3 separate regions of the Homo sapiens genome follow, and all the other regions are linked to region 1. The links are contacts of gene promoters, found by promoter capture Hi-C in human tissues and cell types (Jung and others, 2019). All regions are on one chromosome and are shown on one strand. Each heading gives the region's core, a stretch centred on a gene start or on the middle of the fragment in contact. The rest is flanking DNA. Distances are from core to core; before and after follow the strand shown. Region 1 holds the start of CST9 (cystatin 9). Region 2 overlaps NAPB (NSF attachment protein beta). Region 3 has its middle 14 kb from the start of CST11.

Region 1 (3,085 bases), core at 438-2,937:
GGCACACACCCTGGGAAAATGGGTTCAAGAAATACCATCTGCCCTATTGCAAAGTGCATGCTGAAGTTCTCCTTGCCCTCCTTCCCACTCCATTCTATTTAATTCCACTCCATAGCCTCCCTCTCACCCATCTATTCTTCCCAGCCCCCAAACTGATGCTGGGATTGCCATATCCAGGAAGCCATGTGGAAAGCTTTTAGGACTTACTGTCATTTAGGACTTATAGACCATAGTAAGGAGCTTAGATTTTATTCTAACGGTATTAAGAATGGAGGCTTACACTGAGGTCTTGGAGAATCAAGCAAAGCACTGGGAAAGCAGAAGCATGAGGCCTGGCCAATCTCAATCTCTGAGACTTCCAAGGTTCCAGCATGAATATTAGCAGCCACCATTACTGGACCAGATGCCCCTCTGAGGGTTGCATCAGGCTTTTAATTCTCCTGAGAGGAGGCAGCAAATGAGCAAGGAGGAAAATTCCTCTGTACCAGCATTGGAATCCTGAGGATGGCAGTGAGGAATCCACCCCAGGAGGCAGAGAACCAGCCAGAGCCTTGCACAGAGTCTTTCCAGAGCTTAAGCTCTGTGCGGTACTAGAGTCCCTCTGCCTTTCTTTCAGGCTCTTGGTGCTGAGAAAGGAAGAGCAATGCTCCTTCTCTCTCTAAACCAGAAGTTCTCCACTAGGAGGGCATTTTAATTGTTCATGCCTGAAGCCCAGATGAACTGTGCATTCCTGACCACATTTAATGATTTCATCAAAAAGGCAAGCATTTTAGGATAAAGGTCCATTGAGGAAGAGTGTAAATTGGCCTTCAGTTCATTAAGTGCAGACAGAGCAAGGAGCCCAGAGAAGGTGGAGATCAGAGAACTAACCTTTCACGGTGGCCTCTCAGGGCTGATGGTGTTCTTTATTGCCCTCGAATTCTCACTGTTCTCTCTCTGTCTGCCTGTCTCTCTCTCTCTCTGTCTCTCTCTCTCTGTCTGTCTGTCTCTCTCTGTCTCTCTCTCTCTCTCCCTCTGTGTGTCCTTGCTTTTCCATTTTCATTTTATGACCTGGAAATGTTTATCAGTCTCTTTGGTTATTTTCTCTTCTTGTCAGCTTCATCTCCTTAGAAGTCCTTATTTTGAAGTCACTCTTCAGTTATACAATGTCTTAAAAATCATGAAGATTGAAAAATATATTTTGCATGTGAATAGACATTTACCTAATTTAAAAAAAATTTTAAGTTCAATGTTTTCCAAAACTAAAACTACCGTAATTGGTTGTGGACTACCTGACTATGGACTGCTGATGGTGAACCAAGTCTCCTAGACTAGACATCTTGGTCCCTCACTTAGGGGCAGATGGAGAAGGACAGGCCAGAAGAGGATGTGGTCACCAACCTTTCTGTCCATGCTATCCTCCCTCCATGAACTCAGGACGCGCAACAGCCTGTAGGCATGCTCCTCCTTGCTCTGCACGTTGAAAGTGTTCAAGGCAAACTCCACTGTGGCGAGGAACATAGGATCCTGGACTATTTTATTATTACCACCCATTTCCTCTTCAGAACACCAGGCATAAGTCACCAGGAGCTGGAAGCCCATGAGAAGCAGTGACAGTGCCCAGGGCATAGCCTTCCTCCTCTGCGGACTCGACATGATGCAGGCTCCAGCAGCCCTTGCCTTTGCCCTTCAGATCCCTGGCGTCCACTGGAGCCTTCCAGGGCTCAGGTCTGGCCTTTAAATTCACCTGCTGGGGCAGAAACTCCTCCCTCCAGGCCTCACCTCTGCAGTTACACCCTGTCTCTCCCACACATGGCCTCCCTTCTTCCAAAGGCGTTTAAATCATCTCCTGTTTAGGGGAGAGGAACAGCACCCAGGCAGGTGGGTTGGAAAAGACTAGCAATGGGAGAGATAGTGCCCTGAACATGAGGCCCAGCCCCAGCTGCCCCAGCACCTCCGCAGGCTAAAGGAGACCTCTACTGGGCGCCCCAGAGTCAGAGCCCGGCACAGGAACACAAGTGTGAGAGGTATGAGTGGAAGGTGAGCCCTGGACTCAGCAGTGGGGGTGGGCTGGGAGGGGGAGGTTAGGTGGAAAGGCAGAGACAAAAGGATGGAAAGGGATGACAGTGGATGCTAGTATCATGGGTGAGCAGGTACAGCGCCCCGAGAAAGCACTGGGCCTCTTGAGAGAGAGGCGGGGAGCCCGGGAGGATTGGCGGGATGTCCTGCAGGTGTCTGCTCCCCCGAGGGTCTCGGGAGGGGGGCACCAGCCTGGGGGTCGTGGGCAGAGGTTGAGGAAATCAAGAGCAGGAGCCCCCAACCCTGTTCTCTGCACCTCCCTAAATGCAGCTTCCCAGCCCAGGGACGCGCTGCCAAGTGCTGGTACTAGGGGCCTGGCTAGTTATGGCTGCCCCTATTCCTCAAAGGTGTTTCCAGGACGGGTGGCCGCTTGCAATTGGAGCAGTGGAGAACCAGAAAGACGAAGATGCCCTCAGGGATGGCTGAAGTGCACCCATTAGGTTGTCACGGGTTCCCTCCTGTGGCCACAGCCGGCACAGCACTCTGCGGCACAGTTTGTGGGTGGAGATTCTGAGTTCTCGACCAAGACCCACATAGCCTCCAACTCCAACCGCAAATGGGGCTCTCAAAAGACTGAATAATGCACTCTTCACAGACCAGACTTAAGCTTTGTCCCTGTGAAATATGCCTTTGATGTTTATCCGTAGCTCCTTGTAAACTTCAGAAGCAACCAGCATCCCCTGATGTCACGTTAAAAAGCAAGTTCCTAGTTTCCCCACCCAAAGATTCTGACCCAGTAGCTGTGAGCAGGGCCAGGGAAACTACATTTCTCACCAGCTTCCAGAGGATGGTTGTGTTCCCGGTCTCAGAACCATACTTTGAGTGGTGCAGGTTCAGAATACTTCCTGGGAAGTGCATACAGACCAAACCACATATGAGAAGTAACTCAGCTTGAGGGGCATGGAGGTCAGGGGATGAGAATGGCTTTTGTGGGGCACACAGGATGGGGGACAGGCTTAGACAGCATGCCTGGTGATAAAGAATAAGAGTTTGTTTCTAGACCCTGTTTGCAAAGAAAAAGCAACTC
Region 2 (3,085 bases), core at 267-2,766, 220 kb before region 1:
GTGGGCTCAACAGCAGGATGAAAGGGACAGAGGAAAGAAGCACTAAATGGAAGACAACAACAGGAACAACAGAGAGAAGACAAACTGACAAAAAGGAACAGAGCATCAAGGACCCATGGGATAATAAAACAGTCTCACTTTTGTGGCATCTGTGTTCTAGAAGGGGAGGAGAAAGAGAAAAGGGCTGGCTGGGCATGGTGGCTCACGCCTGTAATCCCAGCACTGTGGGAGGCCAAGGCAGGCGAACCACTTGAGGTCAAGAGTTCAAGACCAGCCTGGTCAACATGGCGAAACCTTGTCTGTACTAAAAATACAAAAATTAGCCAGGTGTGGTGGCAAGCACCTGTAGTCCCAGCTACTTGGGAGGCTGAGACAGGAGAATTGCTTGAACCTGGGAGGCAAAGGTTGCAGTGAGACAAGATTGCGCCATTAAACTGGCACGCCTGGGCGACAGAGCAAGACTCGGTCTCAAAAAAAAAAAAAAAAAAAAAAAGGAAGCTGAAAAAGTACTTGAAGAAATAACTGCTAAATGATTCTCAAATTTGACAAGAAACATAAACCTACAGATTCTGTAAGTTTAGGGAAACTCAAATAGCTTAAAACCAAATATATCTATCCAAGCCACATTATAATTAAACTTTTGAAACTAAAAGAAAAAAATTATGAAAGTGTCTAGAGAATAACACCTTTTTTATAGGGGAAAACAAGTTGAATGACAGCAGACTTCTTATCAAAAACAATGGAGGCCGACTAGGCGTTGTGGCTCATGCCTGTAATCCCAGCACTTTGGGAGGCTGAGGTGGGTGGATCACTTGATGTCAGAAGTTTGTAAAACCATGGAAGCCATAAAGTGCACATTTTTGAAACTAAAGGAAAAGAACAATCAACTTAGAATTATACTCCCAGGAAAACTATGTTTCAGAAATGAAGGCAAAATCAAAACGTTTCCAGATAGGGGAAAACTAAGAAAATTTGTTGTCAGCAGACCTACCCTAAAAAAATGACAAAAGGAGGTTCTCTAAATAGAAAGGAAACAATAATCTTGGAACATCCAGAAGAAAGAACATGGTAAGCAAAAATATGGGTAAATATAACAGGCTTTCTTTCTTGAGTTTTCTAAATTATGTTTGATGGCTGAAACAAAAATTCTAACATTGACTCATGTGGTTCTAAATGTATGCAGAGGAAACATTAAGACAACTATATATTGAATAGGGGGAGTAAAAGAACAGAAAGGGAGGTAAGATTTCTATATTTCACCAGAACTTATAAAATGATGACACCAACCTACAGCATTTAACCACAAAAGCTACACAAAGATATATACCATTGATTCTCCAACAACACTGGTTTAAACTGTGTGAATCCACTTATATACGGATTTTTTTCAACCAAATGTGGATTGAAAATACAGTATTCTTAGGAATTCAACACCCATATAAATGAAAGGCAGACTTTTTTATATGTGAGTTCCACAGGGCCGACTGTGGGACTTGACTATGCACAGATTTTGATATATGAGAGAGGTCCTGGAACTAATCCCCTGTAGACACTGAGGAATAACTGTACTTAGAAACACTGGAAAATCAAGTAGGCTGGGTGTGGTGGCTCACACCTATAATCCTGGCACTTTGGGGGACCGAGGTGGGCAGATGACTTGAGCTCAGGAGCTCAAGACCAGCCTGGGCAACATGGCAAAACCCCATCGCTACAAAAAGACTTGAGCTCAGGAGTTCAAGACCAGCCTGGACAACATGGCAAAACCCCATCGCTACAAAAAATAGCCAGGTGTGGTGGTGCATGTCTGTAGTCTCAGCTATTCTGGAGGCTAAGGCTGAGGTGGGAGGACTGCTTGAGGTTGGGAGGTGGAGGCTGCAGTGAGCCAGGGTCGCACCATTTCCCTCCAGCCTGGGTGACAGAGTGAGACCCAGTCTCAAAAAAAAAGAAAGAAAGAAAAAAAAGAAAAGCAACCCATAAAAAGGTTGGAAAAAGAAAACAGAGAAACAAAAAGCAAAGAATAGAAAGCAAAAACTAAAATGGCAGAAAGCAGAATTAAGCCCTAACATATAAATAACTGCATTAAATGTGAATGACCTAAATACACCAATTGAAAAACAAAGATTGGCACAGTGGATTAAAAAACAGGATCCAGGCTGGCTGTGGTGGATCATGCCTGCAATCCCAGCACTTTGGGAGGCCAAGGCGGGTGTATCACCGAGGTCAGGAGTATGAAACCAGCCTGGCCAACATGGTGAAATCCTGTCTCTACTAAAAATACAAAAATTAGCCGGGCATGCTGGCACGCACCTGTAATCTCAGCTACTCGGGAGGCTGAGGCAGGAGAATTACTTGAATCCAAGAGGTAGAGGTTGCAGTGAGCCAAAATCACTCCACTGCGCTCCAGTGTAGGAGACAGAGCAAGACTCTGTCTCAAAACAAACAAACAAAAAAAAACAAGATCCAACTACAAGAAACTCACTTCAGTTATAATGATATAGACAGGCTGAAAGAAAAAGAATGGACAAACATATCATATAAACATTAATCAAAAGAAACCAGGCAGGGCTATAAAGTGGATAAAGTAGACTTGAGCCAAGAAAATTACCAGAGACAGAGAAGGACATTATGTAATGATAAAAGGGTCTCTCCAGCAAGAATAGCAATCCAGAGCTGCAAAGTATGTGACGCAAAGACTGACACAATGAAAGAAGAGTCAGACAAATCCACAACTAAAGTTGGAGATTTTAACACCCAACTCTCAACAATGGATAGAATTAGAAAGAAAATCAAAGGCCAATCGCAGTGGCTCACACCTGTAATCCTGGCACTTTGGGAGGACAAGGCAGGCAGATCATTTGAGGCCAGGAATTCGAGACCAGCCTAGCCAACATGGCACACACCTGTAATCCCAGCTACTCGGGAGGCTGAGGCACGAAAATAGTTTGAACCTGGGAGGTGGAGGGTTGCAGTGAGCTGAGATCAAGTCACTGCACTCCAGCCTGGGTGACAGAGCAAGACTCTGTCTGAAAGAAGAGAAAGAAGAGAAAGAAGAGAAAGAGAGAGAGAGAAAGAGAGAAAGAGAGAG
Region 3 (3,085 bases), core at 194-2,693, 140 kb before region 1:
TTTTGTTACTGGCTTATTTCACTTAGTATAACATCCTCAAGGTTCACCCATGTTGTAACATGTAACCGTTTTTTCCTTTTTTATGGCTGAATAATATTCCATTGTATGGAAATGCCACATTTTTTTTATTCACTCATTCTTCCATGGACACTTGGGCTGCTTCCACCTCCCAGCTATTGTGGATAATGCTGCTGTGAACACGAGTGTGTGGATATATGCTCAATTCCAAGCCTCTGATTTTGCACCTTTGGTAATGAAGGAATCCCAAGGGAGGGTTGCAGAAGCTCCAGGGCAGGAGCCCTGATCAGGCAGCTCTCCGCTCTGCCCATGAGTCTCCAAAAGGTCCTCTAGGTATATGAGCCTGTCCCTAAGGGCCTGACCAACTTCTCGGTTAATAAGAAAAACTTTGCCAAGACTGCAGATGATTGCAGAAGCAGCAGCTCAACTCAGCATGTCCCTACCAGCTTTTTGATGCTTAAATCCTTCAGCCTGGGGGCCCAGCATGGTCTCCATTGTGAGGACTCAGTTGCAGATGCTACTCACTGCCCTTTGGAGAGACACTGTGGTAATAGACACTTGCCTTGATGTAGGAAACTGCCTGACTTGGAGCAAGACCTAGAGTGGAGGGCACCAGGGGCAGAAAGGGGATGAAAGATCTTGACTTTCAACGCTGCTTGGGAAAATGCATTTTCTCTGCTTCAATTGAGGGGACAAAAATTAAAGTTCAGTGCCTGATAAGGAAGAAGACTATGGTAAATATCCAAGGGTTTCAGGTGAAACCATGAGAGGCCACATCCTAGGAGTAAAAGTGAACTGGAAATAGACCATTTGCAGAAGCCCAGATTTGAATCTTTGAACTGAAAGAAAATAATGAACAATCTAGAATTCCATAGTCAGTAAAGATACTCCTCAAAAATGAAAGCAAAATAAAGACATTTTCAGAACATCAAAAAGAAAAAAAACTCAAAAATTTTAAAGATGAAAATGTTTCAGAGTGTGTTCTTTGTTCACAGTAAACAACTATAATAAAAATAGCTAAAAATAATTTTAATAACTCTAGCTGTCTGTAAATTTAACAATAAAAAAATCAAACAATAAATTTAAAAATAATTCATGGATTTTGAATTGAAAGATAATAACCATATGACATATCAACATTTCTGAGATGTTGCCATAAAAGGGCTTAGAGGGAAATTTATAGTCTTAAACCCATGTGTTAGCAGTATTTTGGGGACACCCAGAAGAGAGAAGATGGAGATTTGGCTGAACCCCTAGGATAGGGGGTCCCAGAGAAGTTAAATTGTTTAGAGAAAAGTCAGCTTTTGGAAAAAGCTAAATGATACACCAACAAGATCCAATAAAAAATAAACACTAAAATGAGTTCTTTGGAGGTAAGGGAGAATGATCCCAGGTGGAAGCAAAGTAATGTTGAAGGAATGGTGCACAGAAGAAGGGTAAATATAATTGATAAATCCCCATGAATATTAAACGTATAAAACCACTGTAATATTGTTTTACAGGCTATCAAATATGTAGAATTTAAGTACATGACAACAATAACATACAAGGTAGAAGTGGACAAAGGGGTAATAGTGCCCTAAGGTTTCCTCACCATCTTTGCAGTGGTATGTTGGGAGCAGGCCCCCCAAAATCTGTCCATAAACTGGCCCCAAAACTGGCCATAAACAAAATCTCTGCAGCACTGTAACATGTTCATAATGGCCCTAATGCCCGAGCTGGAAGGTTGTGGGTTTACAGGAATTAGGGCAAGGAACACCTGGCCCACCCAGGGTGGAAAACCACTTAAAGGCATTCTTAAGCCACAAATAATAGCATGAGTGATCTGTTTCTTAAGGGTGTGTTCCTGCTGCAGTTAACTAGCCCACCCTATTCCTTTAATTCGGCCCATCCCTTTGTTTCCCATAAGGGATACTCTTAGTTAATTTAATGTCTATAGAAATAATGCTAATGACTGGTTTGCTGTTAATAAATATGTGGGTAAATCTCTGTTTGTGGCTCTCAGCTCTGAAGGCTGTGAGACCCCTGATTTCCCGCTTCACACCTCTATATTTCTGTGTGTGTGTCTTTAATTCCTCTAGCGCCGCAGGGTTAGGGTCTCCCCGACCAAGCTGGTCTCAGCAAGTGGCACCCAATGTGGGACTCGAATCCGGATCGAAGGGTTGCCAGAGCAACCGTTGGAATGGAAAACTAGCTGGAGGACACCCGAGTACTCTTAAAGCAATCCCCATGGTGAGTAAGAAGGGGAGCTCAGAAGCATCAGGGTAACGGTGGGACAGTGTGGGGTCTGGTTCCTTTCACCTTGGAACTTTTTCACACTGATAATGAGGAGAACAAGAGTATAGTGAAGTAACAGAAGAGGTTACAGAGCATGTTTATTTGCCAGCTAAAGCGGCAAAGGAAGGAAAGTTTCATCCCTACCCTTCTGCACCCCCTCCTTATTATTTTGAAGAAAATGAACCCCCAGATCTTTCTTTTCTGGAGGACACTGGGTGAAAAGTAGTTGCCCCAGTGACTGTTTGAGCAGTGCCTCGAGCAACCAGTCTTAGTTCTATTCAGGCAGGAATTCAGCAAGCTAGACGAGAGGGTGATTTAGAGGCTTGGCAGTTCCCTGTTAGAATACACCCCCCAGATCAACAGGGAAATATTACAGCTACATTTGAGCCTTTTCTTTTTAAATTACTCAAAGAAATAAAACAAGCTATAAATCAGTATGGACCAGGTTCTCCTTTTGGAATGGGACTGTTAAAGAATGTTACTATTTCAAGTCAGATGATTCCTACTGACTGGGACACTCTTACTTCAGCTTGTCTAACTCCTGCTCAGTTCTTAAAATTTAAAACTTGGTGGGCATGGGTGCAGCACACCAACATGGCACATGTATACATATGTAACAAACCTGTATGTTGTGCACATGTACCCTAGAACTTAAAGTATAATAAAAAAATACATATATAAATAAAATAAAATAAAATAAAACTTGGTGGGCAGATGACGCTTCCATTCAGGCTGCTCACAATGCCCAGGCCGAAACTCAAATTAATATAACTGCAGACCAACTTTTGGG

The links. Contacts are between HindIII fragments. The study calls those that stand out against the background at their distance.
Region 2: a contact is called between a fragment that was not itself captured here and the fragment with the promoter of CST9 in region 1, in 2 of the 25 tissues and cell types used here (bladder and dorsolateral prefrontal cortex).
Region 3: a contact is called between a fragment that was not itself captured here and the fragment with the promoter of CST9 in region 1, in 2 of the 25 tissues and cell types used here (mesendoderm cells and thymus).

What each region holds. Positions count from the first base shown.
Region 1 is chr20:23,604,230-23,607,314 of GRCh38, forward strand. It overlaps CST9 (cystatin 9), which reads right to left and starts at 1,688. Exons shown (of 2, transcript NM_001008693.3): 1 at 1,381-1,688. The coding sequence starts at 1,635. The HindIII fragment of the contact is 5,555 bases long and covers 1-3,085 here.
Region 2 is chr20:23,382,687-23,385,771 of GRCh38, forward strand. The region is part of intron 7 of NAPB (NSF attachment protein beta); the gene reads right to left. Among named protein-coding and RNA genes, the nearest start is that of GZF1, 22 kb to the left of the region's middle. The HindIII fragment of the contact is 8,963 bases long and covers 1-3,085 here.
Region 3 is chr20:23,465,297-23,468,381 of GRCh38, forward strand. No RefSeq gene overlaps it. Among named protein-coding and RNA genes, the nearest start is that of CST11, 14 kb to the left of the region's middle. The HindIII fragment of the contact is 8,919 bases long and covers 1-3,085 here.